Regions from separate parts of the Homo sapiens genome. Here region 2 is linked to region 1. Evidence: promoter capture Hi-C in 16 types of primary human blood cells and fetal thymus (Javierre and others, 2016). All regions are on one chromosome and are shown on one strand. Each heading gives the region's core, a stretch centred on a gene start or on the middle of the fragment in contact. The rest is flanking DNA. Distances are from core to core; before and after follow the strand shown. Region 1 holds the start of ALKAL1 (ALK and LTK ligand 1). Region 2 overlaps LOC107986943 (a long non-coding RNA gene).

Region 1 (6,553 bases), core at 727-3,226:
TTTTATCCCTTGTAACTCACTTCAGTAAGTCTTCACTGTCTGAATCAAAGAGAAAAGATCTGTTGAATGAAACAGAAGGTCTGAATGAATGTGTGCCCTCCATGTTTCTGTACTTTGAGAGCCTTTCTCCCAGTCCTTTCACATTCCAAAGTGACATTTTATTCTCTGAGATAAATATTTTAGGCTAACAATAATTTTAAGTCAAAGTGCATGATCTGTGTGCACCATTGCTGCATGGCCGTGCTGCGGACACTGACCCTGTGCCCTCCCCTCCTGAGGGCTCCCCAGTGGCCGGCTGGACTGAGAGGCTCTGCCCGGGTTGTCCACACACCAGCTGGGCAGCCCACCTCAGCCTCCCACCTTCTCCATCCCCTCCCCAGGGCAGGACACCCTGCTCACTTAGTGCAGGTGTGCACCAGCGCCTCCTTCCACACCCAGGTGTGTGGGAGAGTGCAGACACTGCTGTCTGCTCCTCTGGGTGGCCTCCGCCCTCTGCATGGTGACAGACAGGAACTCGAAGAAAGTTTGTGGAGTGAATAAGTATATATTTATATCACAACTATTGTGAAAGAAAAATCATACTAAGAAGCCCTTGTTTGCTTTCTTAGCCATAAAGCCTGAGGAGAAGGGATCAGGAGCTGTGGTCCCACGGCCAGCCGCTAGCTGCGAGGCATCCCCAGGCCACCCTAGGCCCTCTCCTCTTCCCAAGCCCGGTGGAGGCCACCAAATGTCCCCGCAGAGGGGCCCTTCTGTCCCAGCCTCGCCGGCAGCTTCACCTTGCTCTGCTCTTGCTGGGTGTGAACAGAAACGTGTGAGGAGCTTCTCGCTTCTGTCCCCACCTTCCTTTCCTGCGTGTCCTGCCCTCCTCCCTCCAGCGCTGCCCCAAGTGCCCGGCCGCCCCCTCGGACCTCCTTTTCCAGGGGCTTTTCCGTGTTCCCCGTATTCACACGACTTCTCTGCCTGTGGATGTCTCATGACCCTCTAGAGCAGCGACTTTTTCCTCCCTCATTCCTTCCACTCCCCTCGGGCATCTAAGTAGCAGGAACCTGACTGTCCAAAGTTGATTTGGGAGCAGCCGGCTGCCCTTCTAAAATGATCTAGGAAAGGTGCCAGTAACATAAGCCGCCGCCTGCTGAAACTGGCGCTTCCTCAGCCACTCGCTGCGGCCAGCGTGAAAGGGGAGGGGAAAGGGGCATTCCTGGCACGGTCAGGTGTCTACGGACAGCAATCTTAGTTAATTCTCAAAACCCCGGAAGATCCAGAAATGGGGTGCTGACAGGGACCTAACCTGTCCACCACCCCTCGGTCGGTGGGACTGAAACCCATGTCTTTGAGCTGCTTTACCAGTTTATTTCCAAAAAGTCCTCCTACACCTGGGAAGGGACATAGAAAGCTGATCCCATTGCCAGCCGGATTTCTTTACTTAACTCTCAACCGTGGTAAATCTAATTCGCTTACGACCTCTTTCCGAGAGCTGGGAATCTGCAGAGATGCTCTGTTTTCTGCTGTACTAATCTCAGGCTTCCCAAAGCGAGTGCCTCGCCCAGCTCCTAGGGGAATCCACGGAGCCCCAGGCGCAGGGCAAAGGATGGGGCGGGATGGGGACATCGTACCTGCGCTCCGGGAGCCGCTGGGAGTCCGGCCGGCCCCGGCCGCGGGGAGGAAAAGCAACGGCTTGGGCTCCTTATCCGTGACGCGCGCTCCCCTGCGCCCCCGGGGCCTCCCGTGGGCTCCGTGCGGGGACAAAGCCAGCGCCAGCAGGAAGAGTGCGGGCAAAGGGGCGCCGGGCTTAAGGGGCCGCATGTTCGCAAGCCGGGAGGAGAGAGCGGGAGACTCCGGGAGGATCCCGACGCAGGTCCGGAGGGTGCGCGGCCCAAGAGAAGGCCAGCGGGACCACAGCGCGGCTACGCGGCCGGCCGCAGTCTTCACCGCGCGCCTGCCCTTGTCTACGTCCCGGGGGTCGGCTGGAGCTGCACTGGGACTCGGTCCTCAGTGTGCCGAAGCCTAAGCGCTGCGGGGCGCGGGGCGGGAACGGGAGGCGGTGCCTGGGGCCACGGGGTCGTCCCCCAGGATGAGGGCGTGTCCCAGCGCGCGGGACCCTCGGAAGTCCGCGCTGGGCCGGGCGGGCACCAGCCTCGGACTCAGCGGGTCTCAGGGCTCCCTGCGCAACGCCTGCCTCGGATCCGGACCCCGGGCTCGCTCTCTGGTCGCCGTCCCCGGGAGGACCCAGTAGGGTAACTGCCGCGTCGCCCCGGCGGTTCTCCCTGGGCTCTGTCTCCCGCCGCCTCCACCCCCCGAGCCTCGGGGTCCGTCACGGCTTCCCCTGGCTGGCGGGGTCAGTAGAACCCGCGGCGCCTAGGTCCGGACGGAAAAAAGCAGGGCCGGGGTGCGGCCTGGATGAGCGGAGATCTCCGCGCCTTGGGCTCAAAGGTGCGGGGTGCGCTCTGCTGCCGAGCCCCTGCTCGCTCAGGAACACTGGCCACGCCGTCACGCCAGCCGCCCCTGCCCCAGGTCTGGAGGCCCGACCTGCTCTCCTAGGCGCAGCACCGCGTTCTCTTCCGCGTGGGGGAGCGGCGGGCGGAAGAGGTCTGGGGCTGGGCACCGGGGACACGCGCCCAGCTCCCCTGGCCTCCCTGGGGGGAGTGGCCGGTTTCAGTGCTTCCCCAGGTGAAATCGCCAAGGTTGACCAGTGCGCCCAAAAAAGCAGCCGGCTGGATTTTTCTTCAAATTAGGGAACTCTTATAAAGAGTTTTAGTGTTAACAACTTAAAAAATGAAATTAAGGCCAGTCGTTCTGATTAAAGTGCGCCTCTCTGATCAAACCGCGCTCTGTAAACTGTTGTTGTTTTAGTTGTTTCAGCCGCCTGCTTTATTGCTTTATGTTAAGTATATTGAAAAATGTTGAAATTGCTCGCTAATCAATTGACTACTAATTATCTCCTCATATGCAAAGTGCAAACAGGTGAAAGGAAAAAGGCAGGAATAACTAAGGGAACTGAGGCTCCATTACTCCTTAGGCGGTGCCCAACGTTACATTACTCTACAAAAAGAAATCTTGTGGGTCACAGATCCTGAATAATGACCTCAACTCCTTCAAATAGTTTATCTAGGCTTGGCATGTCCAACATGCCTAAGAAATTGGGAAGCAAAGCAAGCTTTGCAGGAGCCCTGTGAAATCGTGCCTTTGGATGAAGCTCTTTTGAGGAAGTTGTTACACAGGTGAAGACTGCTTCTTCCAATCGTTTCACTGTTAAGCACGCATAGGAATCTGGTATTTCCTAAGCAAACACAGCAGTGTAAGAGAATGGCTTCCACCAAGGGAGACCCACAAGAGTCTTCCTAGAAAAACAGGTTAAGGGTCTGAAGGCCCTACTTAGGTGGAATAAACGCTTTCTCACAGCTCTACTGAAGTGAAATAAGAAAACATTAGAAGTTCACAGACATTGACAGGCAGTTCAAAAATTAATTTTAATTGGAAAATAAAAAAATAGGGACTAGTCCGAAAAACGATGGGGAAATGCAGTATGAAATAATGCTGGAGAATAAGTGATACTGAAACCATGACAAATGGACTTTTTAATCAACCATCTATCCGGAGCAAAAGACAGCAAAACCTGGAAGCTGAATTATTTCCCTCTTCCTCTACGTTGAAAGCTAGAGGAAATAAACAAAGCAATGAAGTTTTCAAGCCTGACAGTTTGGGGTCTACTTTCAGCTGTCATTAGCCATGGGGCCCTGAGCAAAACACTTAGTCTTCTCTCTAGCAAGGTGAAGAGGTTGAACTTCAGTGGTTCTCACACTGTGTACCATGTGAAGGAGAGGCTGTAAAAAAAATGCAGGTTCCCAAACCCCTGGGGACGCAGTCCCCCAGGAGGATCCTGTAAATCTGCGTTTTAAGGGACTCTGGGTAGTTCTGAAGCAAGTGGTCCTTTGAAACCCACCTTTATTCATTCAACAAAAATGATGTGAACGCACACTGTGGACCAGGCAGTGGAAACACAGCGGAGCCACCACAGTGGGTAAAATAAACAAAATCCTCATCTTTGTGGAGCATCTAACTTCAGGGATCTAGTTCCTCAACACAGTGCTTTTATCATAAATAAACAGGTTACGTATAGCTAAGTCACTCTTTGCTTTTGTTCTTTGTTCATTGCATATCTTTGACTACTTTTCTAACTGCCCCAACTAAATGCTGCTTGCCCTGCCTCTTGCTAATTAGTTTAGAGGCAACTTGAAGTGTTCATGTGGGCATTCCCTCAGTAACACTTGCTAATTTATTTAGTATATAAGGAAGGGTTTTCTGTGTAGAAATGGGTACTTAGTAACTAATGTTTAAAGTAATCCAAAGTTTTTAAAACTGTAACTGTTACAAGCTGTTTTAAGCCTTGAAACTCAAGGCACTTATTTTCTTTACAACTTAGCTAATAAATTAAACAAGTGAAGTTTCCTTATTTAACACCAACAAACCCTATTAAACATTTCAAAATACAATCACATATTTAATATAGTTGATTTTCTTAAACATTTTTAAAACCAGAATTTTAAAAGTCACAATTGAAAAATCCATTGCTACATCTCCCCCAAAATATTGGTAATATTGGTAATATAAACTTGTATTAAGGTTCTCTAGAGGGACAGAACTAACAGGAGATATATACATATATATACACACATATAAATATAGAGATATATGTAAATATATATATAATACTTAATAAACTCCTACATATATATAGGAGTTTATTAAGTATTAACTTACACAATCACAAGATCCCACAACAGGCTGTCTGCAAGTTTGAGCAACAAGGTGACCCAGTCCAAGTCTCAAAACTGAAGAACTTTGGAGTCCGATGTTCAAGGGCAGGAAACATCCAGCATGGGAGAAAGATGTAGGCTGGGAGGCTAGGCCAGTCTCACCTCTTCACTTCAATCCAATCAAGTTGATACTCAGTATTAACCATCACAAGAATAAGATTATGACACAAACCTAGAGAGTTGATATACTCCTGAGGTAGGACAGTAAAGGTATATTGCTGGCCTTGCCAGCTGAAGGCAAATTGCTTCTGGTGGGCCTTATGGACAGGAATGGAGAAAACGGCATTTGCCAAGTCAATGTCTGCATACCAGGTACCAGGAGATGTGTTAATTTGCTCAAGCAATGAAACCACATCTGGTACTGTAGCTGCAGTTGGAGTCACCACTTGGTTAAGCTCACAATAATCCACTGTCATTCTCCAACATCCATCTGTCTTCCGCACAGGCCAAATGGGAGAGTTTAATGGGAATGTGGTGGGAATCGGAATCACCTCCCCTGCATCTTTCAATTCCTTGATGGTGGCACTAATCTCCTCAGTTCCTCCAGGTATGCAATATTGTTTTTGATTTACTATTTTTCTAGGTAGAGGCAGCTCTAATGGCTTCCATTTGGCCTTTCCCACCATGATAGCCCTCACCCTACCAGTTAGGGAGCCAATGTGGGTGTTCTGCCAGGTGCTAAGTATGTCTATGCCAATGATGCACTCTGGCACTGGAGAAATGACCACAGGATGAGTCTGGGGACCCACTGTAAGTCAGACCTGAGCTAGAGCTCCATTAATTACCTGACCTCCATAAGCCCCTACTTTAACTGGAGGACCACAATGACATTTTGGGTCCGCTGCAATCAACATCAGCTCAGAGTCAGGGTCCAGTAATCCCCAAAATGTCTGATCATTTCCCTTTCCCAGTGCACAGTTACCCTGGTAAAAGGCTGGAGGTCTCCTATTTCCCTTTCCCAATGCACAGTTACCCTGGTGAAAGGCTGGAGGTCTCCTTGGGGAAGGGCGGGGAAAAAATTCACTGCCTAAATTGTCAGTGATGTAGTGGGGTCCTTCCTCAAGGGGACCCAGCCTCCCCTTCATTCAAGGGGTTCTGGGTTTGTAAAACTGGCTCAAATCTGGAAATTGATTGAGAGGCCATGATTCTCTGTTTTTATAATTCAAATTAGTCTTTGGTCCATTCAACCTAGAATTTTTCTCCTTATAGAAATTAAGAAGGAATGCAGTAGGCTTCCTATCAATTTCACTTCTACGAACACTGTGATTAATTAGCCAATGCCAGAGCTCTACACAAGTCAGACTATTCCGATTGCCGCTTTGCCTCTGCTGTCCATTATGGTAGCTACGCCCACCTTGCCTTTGACAGTTGAGTGTTGCCACTTGGCCCCTGCCTCCCTGGGATCCAATTATGCCCGTTGTATTTAAATTTTGTAGTTGAATGACTGTGGTTCCCACCATTAGATCTGACATACAGAAAAGAGCAATTACAGGGCTCTTCAAACATGCAAGTGCTGCCCTCACGCATCTATTTCACAATGCATTGGTCAAGGGTATATCTTCTGGACCCTCCCAGCTGGAATGAGTAGGTCTAAAGTAATTAAGCCACTCCACCATCCCAATATCCCTAAGCCTTTGGAGTCCCTCCTCTACATTAAACCAAGGGAGATCAGGCATTTCCAGCTTGCTCTCAGTGAGCTATCTTTTAATCCATATTTCAGCTAACTGAGCAAATAAACT
Region 2 (6,581 bases), core at 1,715-4,214, 360 kb after region 1:
TTTGTGGTATTTTGACCAATTTGTATTCATCATCTTATCTTTCTAAGCTATAAAGACGAACTGATATCAGAGTGGCTTATTTAATCCTGTTTTAGCCTCCAACTTAAATTCTCTAAGTGAAAATGATTTATTAACATAGAAAAAATAACAGCTGACTATGTGGGACTAATCCTTCAGAAACAGCAAAAGCAGAAAATGATTCATAGGGGCTGGAAAAGGTCATTTCCTTACAATTGAGAAGTTCTTTCATCTTGAGGCTATTGGTTGGAGGTGCTACTAAGTTTAAACCTTGTAATGAACATAGGAGATCAACAATCAATAGAATGATACATTTCTTAAGGAAAATGTTTAACTTAAGATTGACTGGCTACTTATCAAACCTCTCTTTCCTTTGGCTCTTATGAAAGAAATGGATTAGACCCTAATTACAATTGCAAAAATCACATAAATATCTTTTATATTTGAATCTGAATGTTGGCTTGGCACTGAAATTGCATATAATAAAGCAATTAGTGGGATTTAGCTTTGACGATTCTTGACTGATGAATACATTTAAAACATTTTACTTGGAATTCATTCTGTGGCTTACAATTCCAGTATTGTAAAATCAGTGAAATCATGACAACATAAATGGTATGGACTGTCTTCTAATATATCTAAATATAAGTTCACTATGCTTCATAGCAACTCATTAACTAAACACATTTACAGATTTCTGGGAAGGGCTTCCAATTTCTTTTTCTTTTTAATAGACTTTCACTTTTTAGACCATTTTTAGGTTTACAGAAAAACTGAGCACAAAATACAGAGAATTCCCATCTTGTCCCTGCAATCACTTACCTTCACACACACAGTTTGTCCTACCATTAGCATCTTTAATTAATGTCTTACATTTGTTACAATTGATGAACCAATATTGATATATTATTAATAACTAAAGCCCCTAGTTTATACAAGGGTTCAATTTTTTGTGTCATACAATTGTACAGGTTTTGACAAATACATACCATCAAGTATCCACAGTTACAGAACTATGCAGAATAGTTTTGCTGCCCTAAAAATCTCCTGTGCATTACTTATTCATCCCTCCTTGTTCCCCATCTCCTGCTCCCTCAAACTTTGGGAATCACTGATCTTCTTTATTTTGCCTTTCCAGAATGTCATATCGTTGGAACCATACAGGATGGAGCTTTTTCTGACTAAATTCCTTCACTGAGCAATATACACTTCAGTTTCCTCCATGTCTCTTCATGGTATGATATCTTCTTTCTATCACTGAATAATATTCCATTGTATGAATATATCACAGTTTGTTTATCCAGACACCTACTGAAGAACATCTTGGTTGCTGCCACCTTTTGGCAATTCTGCATAAAGCTGCTATAAACATTCACATGCAGGTTCTTGTGTGGGCATAAATTTTTAAGTGATTTGTCTAAATATCTAGGAGCACATTTACTAGATGGCATTATAAGACTATATTTAGATTTGTAAGAAATGGCCACATTGTCTTCCAAAGTGGCTGTATCACATTGTATTCTCACTAGCAATGAATGAGAGTTCTTGTCCACCAACATTTGGTGTTGTCAGGGTTTTGTATTAGGTATGTGGCTGTATCTCATTATTACCTATCTTACAACTTTCTAAAGATAGAGAGCTTTGACCATTTTCCATAAGCTTATTTGCCATCTGTATATCTTCTTTGGTATTTCTTCTTCTGTATATCTACTGTGTCCATTAGAGCCTATTGAATATATGTGCTCCTGTCCCAAATTTATATGTGGAATCTCTAATCCCCAGTGTGATGATATTTGGAGGTGGGGACCTTTGGGAGGTAATTTGGTCATGAGGGTTAGGGATCAGTGCCATTGTAAGAAGAGAATGAAATAGATCTTACCACTTTCTCTCTCTGTTGTGTAAGAATAGCAAGAAGTTGGACATCTGTAAATCAGGAATAGGGTCCACACCTAGAACTCAATCATGCTGGCACCCTGATCTCAGACTTTCAGCCTCCAAAATGGTGAGAAGAAACTTTCTGTTGTTTAGGCCACCCAAACCATAGTAGTTTTGAGAGAGCCAGGTTGGAGGAGGTCCTCAGAAAAACTCCAACCGTCCTGTGCACTGGGGTGGAGCCTCAGGAGGTTCATGCCCTTTGCAGTGGGGAGGAGCCTGGCTCCTCCTCTTCCTCTTTGGAACCTGGGATTTGAGCTGCGGGTGGGAAGCACTCTAACAGGGACTCTGGCCTTGGAGAGGATCCCTGTTTCCCCCACTTTTTTCCCTTTCCACCCAATAAAACCCTGCTTTACTCATATTTCAAACCATCTGCAAGCCTAAATTTTCATGGCCGTGGGACAGACAAGGATCCCATCTTTAGCTGAACTAAGGAAAAGTTCTGCAACCATTTGTTGTAGCAGCCTGAACTAAGTCAGAGCCCTTAGCATATTAATTGTAGTTAAATTCCAAGTCTGATGGTTCCAAAATCTCTGCCATATCTGAAGCTAATTCTGATGCTTGCTTTGCCTCTTCAGACTGTATTTTGTCTTTTGGTGTCTGTTGTAATTTTTTGTTAAAATCCAAACATGATGTGTTGTGCGAAGGGAACTTTCGTTAATGAAGTTTTAAACTTAATCTGGCTAGGAGTTAGGCTCCATTTACTGCTTGTTGTAGCTATAGGTGTCAGAAGCTAAAATTTATTCTATCACCCTTGTTTTTGTCTCCTCTGTTGTTTATGGGTTTCCCTAGTGACCTCTCCTTAAATAGCATCTGTGACATGCAATTCTTTCAGTTATATTTCCCTGCTATTATACAGAAGCAGCTCCAATGACATGGTAGTAAAATGTAGAGGGAGAAGAGGCATTCTATAGTCCTTTGATTAGATCTCTGTTTTTTAGTGAACCTATGCATTTGGAGAGGTGACCCTAACAAATACTTCTTAGCTTCTCCTCTAACCGTCTTAGGTGAGTCAGTAAGGCTGGAGAGGCTGGAGTTAGGTATTTCCCTCTCCTAGCGATGAAGGTTAGAAGAGGCTGAAGTTGGGTATTTCCCTTACTCCACATGAGTTAGGCTGGTAAAGTAGCTTCCATTGAGGGCAAGCCTTTGCTAAGAAGAACAGAAGCTCTGGATGTATTTCAAAATTGTTGCCTTTCCCCTCCCCATGCAGGAAGCTGGAAGGAATTTTTATTTTATCTTCATAGTGAGAACCTGGTGGGATTCCTGGTGGTAAAAGTGATAAAAGTGTGGGGACCTCCTAAGGCTGTGCCCACAGAAGTTTTTCTCTCTCAATCTAGTCCATGCTCATTCTTCAGCAATTGGTCAATCATTCCTTCAGTGTTTCAACCAGTTGCTGGCCTTAGTTGTGCCTCCACCCCCTGTCAGCTGTGATCCTCTGTATCCACCTATCTCTCTCTCTGTAGAGTTTTGGACTGGTGGCTTGCCCTCCATCCTCAATTTTTGGGTGGATCTAAGAACAGTTGGTGATTTTCAGAGCCCAACTTTGCCATTGCTATGAGGACATGAGTGATGACTCCCAAACTTTTTACATGTCAAAGTGAACTAGATGTCTCCTTCTTGTATTTTTTCACTTTGCACATTTTATGAAACAGAACTTTAATACTTTGACCAAAAGATGTTTCTGACTTTGAATTGAGTATTTTTCCTGAGTTTTCCTATTAGCATTATTACACAAACATCATTTAATGTGATGACTTACATATGCATCCTAAAATCATAACCAGATATCACATATACAGGAAAATGTCAAAATCCACAATTGGGGTTTTAGTACTTTACTTCTGAGAGTATGAAGGAGCATCAAGACAGAGACAGTCTTTGCCAAATTTTCCCCAAAAAATAGCATAGTGGCTTTGATGGAAAGCGAAGACAGGCTTTTCAATTCTGTGTATAACATCAACCCAATGACGTGCTATGGACAAGTGATTTACTTTTATTCTGTCTCAATTTTCTCCTATAATAATAGTAGTAACAGCAAGAGCAAAGAAAAGATGTAATGAATACTTATTATATCAAGGCAGTATTCTTAACTCTTTACCTGTACTATCATTAAATCCTCAAAGTAATCTAAGAGTTGGAAAACATGAGGCATAAAAAGGTTAAGTGATTTATGCAAGGTTGCACAGCTAGTAAGTGGTGCAGACTCGCTCTAAAGCTCTCCTCATTAAACATGAGAAAACAACCCAAACTCCGTGTGATGATGGAAGTGAAGAGTATCCTAGGCAGAGGAGTAAGAATGAGTAAGCTTATTTCTACCCTCAGGCCTTTGCAAAGATAGAAATAAGTCCTAAATGTTTGAAGGACACAAAAGTCCAAATTGACTAGAGCAAAATAAATAAAGTAAAAAAAAATGGAAGAAGATGAGATTAGAGAGGGCTTGTGTCATAATAGCTAATGTTTATCAAGTTCTTTTAAGTATTCGGTGCTGTTGTATTTTATATTCGTTTTCTTTTAATTCTCAAACAACACTGAAAAGTAGTTCTAATAGTAATCATTACTGTTGCTATTAACACTATTGACAGTCAAAACACATGTGACATAATTTTTTTAAAAAACTTCAAAATAACTTATGGATAAAAAAGAAATAAGGAAAATGACAATTTTTTAAAAGATCTGACTGCCACAGTGCATATAAGACTTTCAAGATATAGGTCAATTGGTACTTTGAGGCAGATAGAAAAATAAGTAAAAAGTGACCATTGAAACAATCATTGTAAGAATTTGGAAAGGCAGCAAAGTAAAAGCCCAAGAAAGAAAGAAAAAATTATTTTAAAATTTTAATAAAAAATAAAGAATAGGATCAACAAAACAAATAGCTCAATCTTAGAGAAGTCTTTTAAAATAGTCCTTTCAAACCTCTGGCAAAATATATTAAGAAAAAGTAAAGTACAAATAAGAATATTAAATATAAAAGTGGCCAAGAGTAGAGTTAAAAATATTTTTAAAACAACAAGCTATGGTATTTGCAAAATAAAAAATACCATAAAGGGTTAAAAAGAAAAGCTAAATAACGACATACCAAATAGATAAATCTGAATAAAAGCAAGGTGAAGAAGCACAGGTAGATGATGATAATATTTATGTAAATGTTTAAAATACTCAAAGGAATATTAAATATACTTTGGATTAAAAAATGTACTGTAAGTATAAAAGCATGGATGGAAAAGACACAAAACCAACTTCAGAACTGTGGCTGTGATTTCAGGTGGAGAGCAGTATTTACACTGATTTCAAGGTATGGAGATTCTTGCAACAAATGTGTAATGCAGATCTGGACTCCAGACTCATTAGAAATAAAAGGCTCAGGTATTCATTTTGGGGTAAGATTTTGTTTCCTTCAACTAAGCTAGGTATAATTTTCCTTTTCTGCTCTGAACTGCTGGGGGACTTTTTCTGCACTGGGGTTTGTGCATATACAGGGGTCTCAGTTTCACCTTCTTGCCTCAAGTAGTTAAGTCCCATCTGCTGGCTTTCCATGTGTTATTTAAAAAATAGCTTTGTTGAGATATTGTAGTAAACATGCAACACGTTTCCCTGTGTCCCTCTAGTCCTCTCCCCGTCTCTCCTTTTCCTACTCCCCTTCCCATCCCTTTTCCCAAGAAAAAAACTGATATGATTTCCGTCACAATAGATTAGATTAGATTTTCTGCCATTTTATGTAAGTACAATCATATAGAATATACTCTATTTTTTTGGACTGGCTTCTGTTGCTTTGCATAATTACTTTGAGATTCATCCATGTTTTAGTGTGTATAAATTCTTTATTCTTTTTTGTTGTTGAGCAGTATTGCATCGCATGAATATACTGCAGTTTGTTTATCTATTAACTGGTTGATGAGCATTTGGGCTGTTTTCAGTTTTTGGCTATTAGATATAAATCTACTATGAGCATTCATGTATAAGGCTTTGTATGAACATATATCTCCTTTTCTTTACAATAAATACTTAGGAATAGAATGGCTGGATTACATGGTAGATGTATATTTAATTTTTAAAGATACTATCAGTCTTCCAAAGTGGTTGTGCCATTTCATACTCCTAAAGTGTATGAGAGTTTCAGTTCCTCTGTATTCTTGACCACACTTGGTATCATCAGTCTTTTTAATTTTAGCCATTCTAATAAGTGTTGTAGCAGTATTTCTTAAAGGTTTTAATTTGCATTTGCCTAATAATTTATAATGTCAGGCAGCTTTTCATGTGCTTATTTGCCATCCAGTTACCTTTTGTGGTAAATTGTCTGTTCACACATTTTGCCTATTTTTAAAATTCGACTGTTTGTTTGCACATTACTAAATTGTGAGAAATTTTAAAAATATTCTGCATAAAGATCCTTTATCAAATATGAACCTTACAAATATATTCACCCAATCTGTAGATTGTCTTTTTATTCTCTTTAAGCAGAAGTATTTAATTTTTGATTAAGTCCAATTTATCAATTCTTTTTTTTTTTTTCTGAGATGGAGTCTCGCTCTGTCGCCCAGGCTGGAGTGCAGTAGCACGATCTCAGCTCACTGCAAGTCTACCTCCCAGGTTCATGCCATTCTCCTGCCTCAGCCTCCCGAGTAGCTGGG

What was found. The method cuts DNA at HindIII sites, captures the fragments that hold promoters and counts their contacts. A CHiCAGO score of 5 or more calls a contact.
Region 2: a contact is called between a fragment that was not itself captured here and the fragment with the promoter of ALKAL1 in region 1, in 1 of 17 cell types (endothelial precursors). The highest score is 6.2, in endothelial precursors.

Annotation. Positions count from the first base shown.
Region 1 is chr8:52,563,454-52,570,006 of GRCh38, forward strand. ALKAL1 (ALK and LTK ligand 1) reads right to left here and starts at 1,977. Exons shown (of 5, transcript NM_207413.4): 1 at 1,614-1,977. The coding sequence starts at 1,803. RefSeq lists an enhancer at 233-1,209. The HindIII fragment of the contact is 9,451 bases long and covers 1-3,152 here.
Region 2 is chr8:52,922,918-52,929,498 of GRCh38, forward strand. LOC107986943 (a long non-coding RNA gene) reads left to right here. Exons shown (of 3, transcript XR_001745899.2): 2 at 1,157-1,253; 3 at 5,216-5,330. Among named protein-coding and RNA genes, the nearest start is that of NPBWR1, 13 kb to the right of the region's middle. The HindIII fragment of the contact is 2,578 bases long and covers 1,676-4,253 here.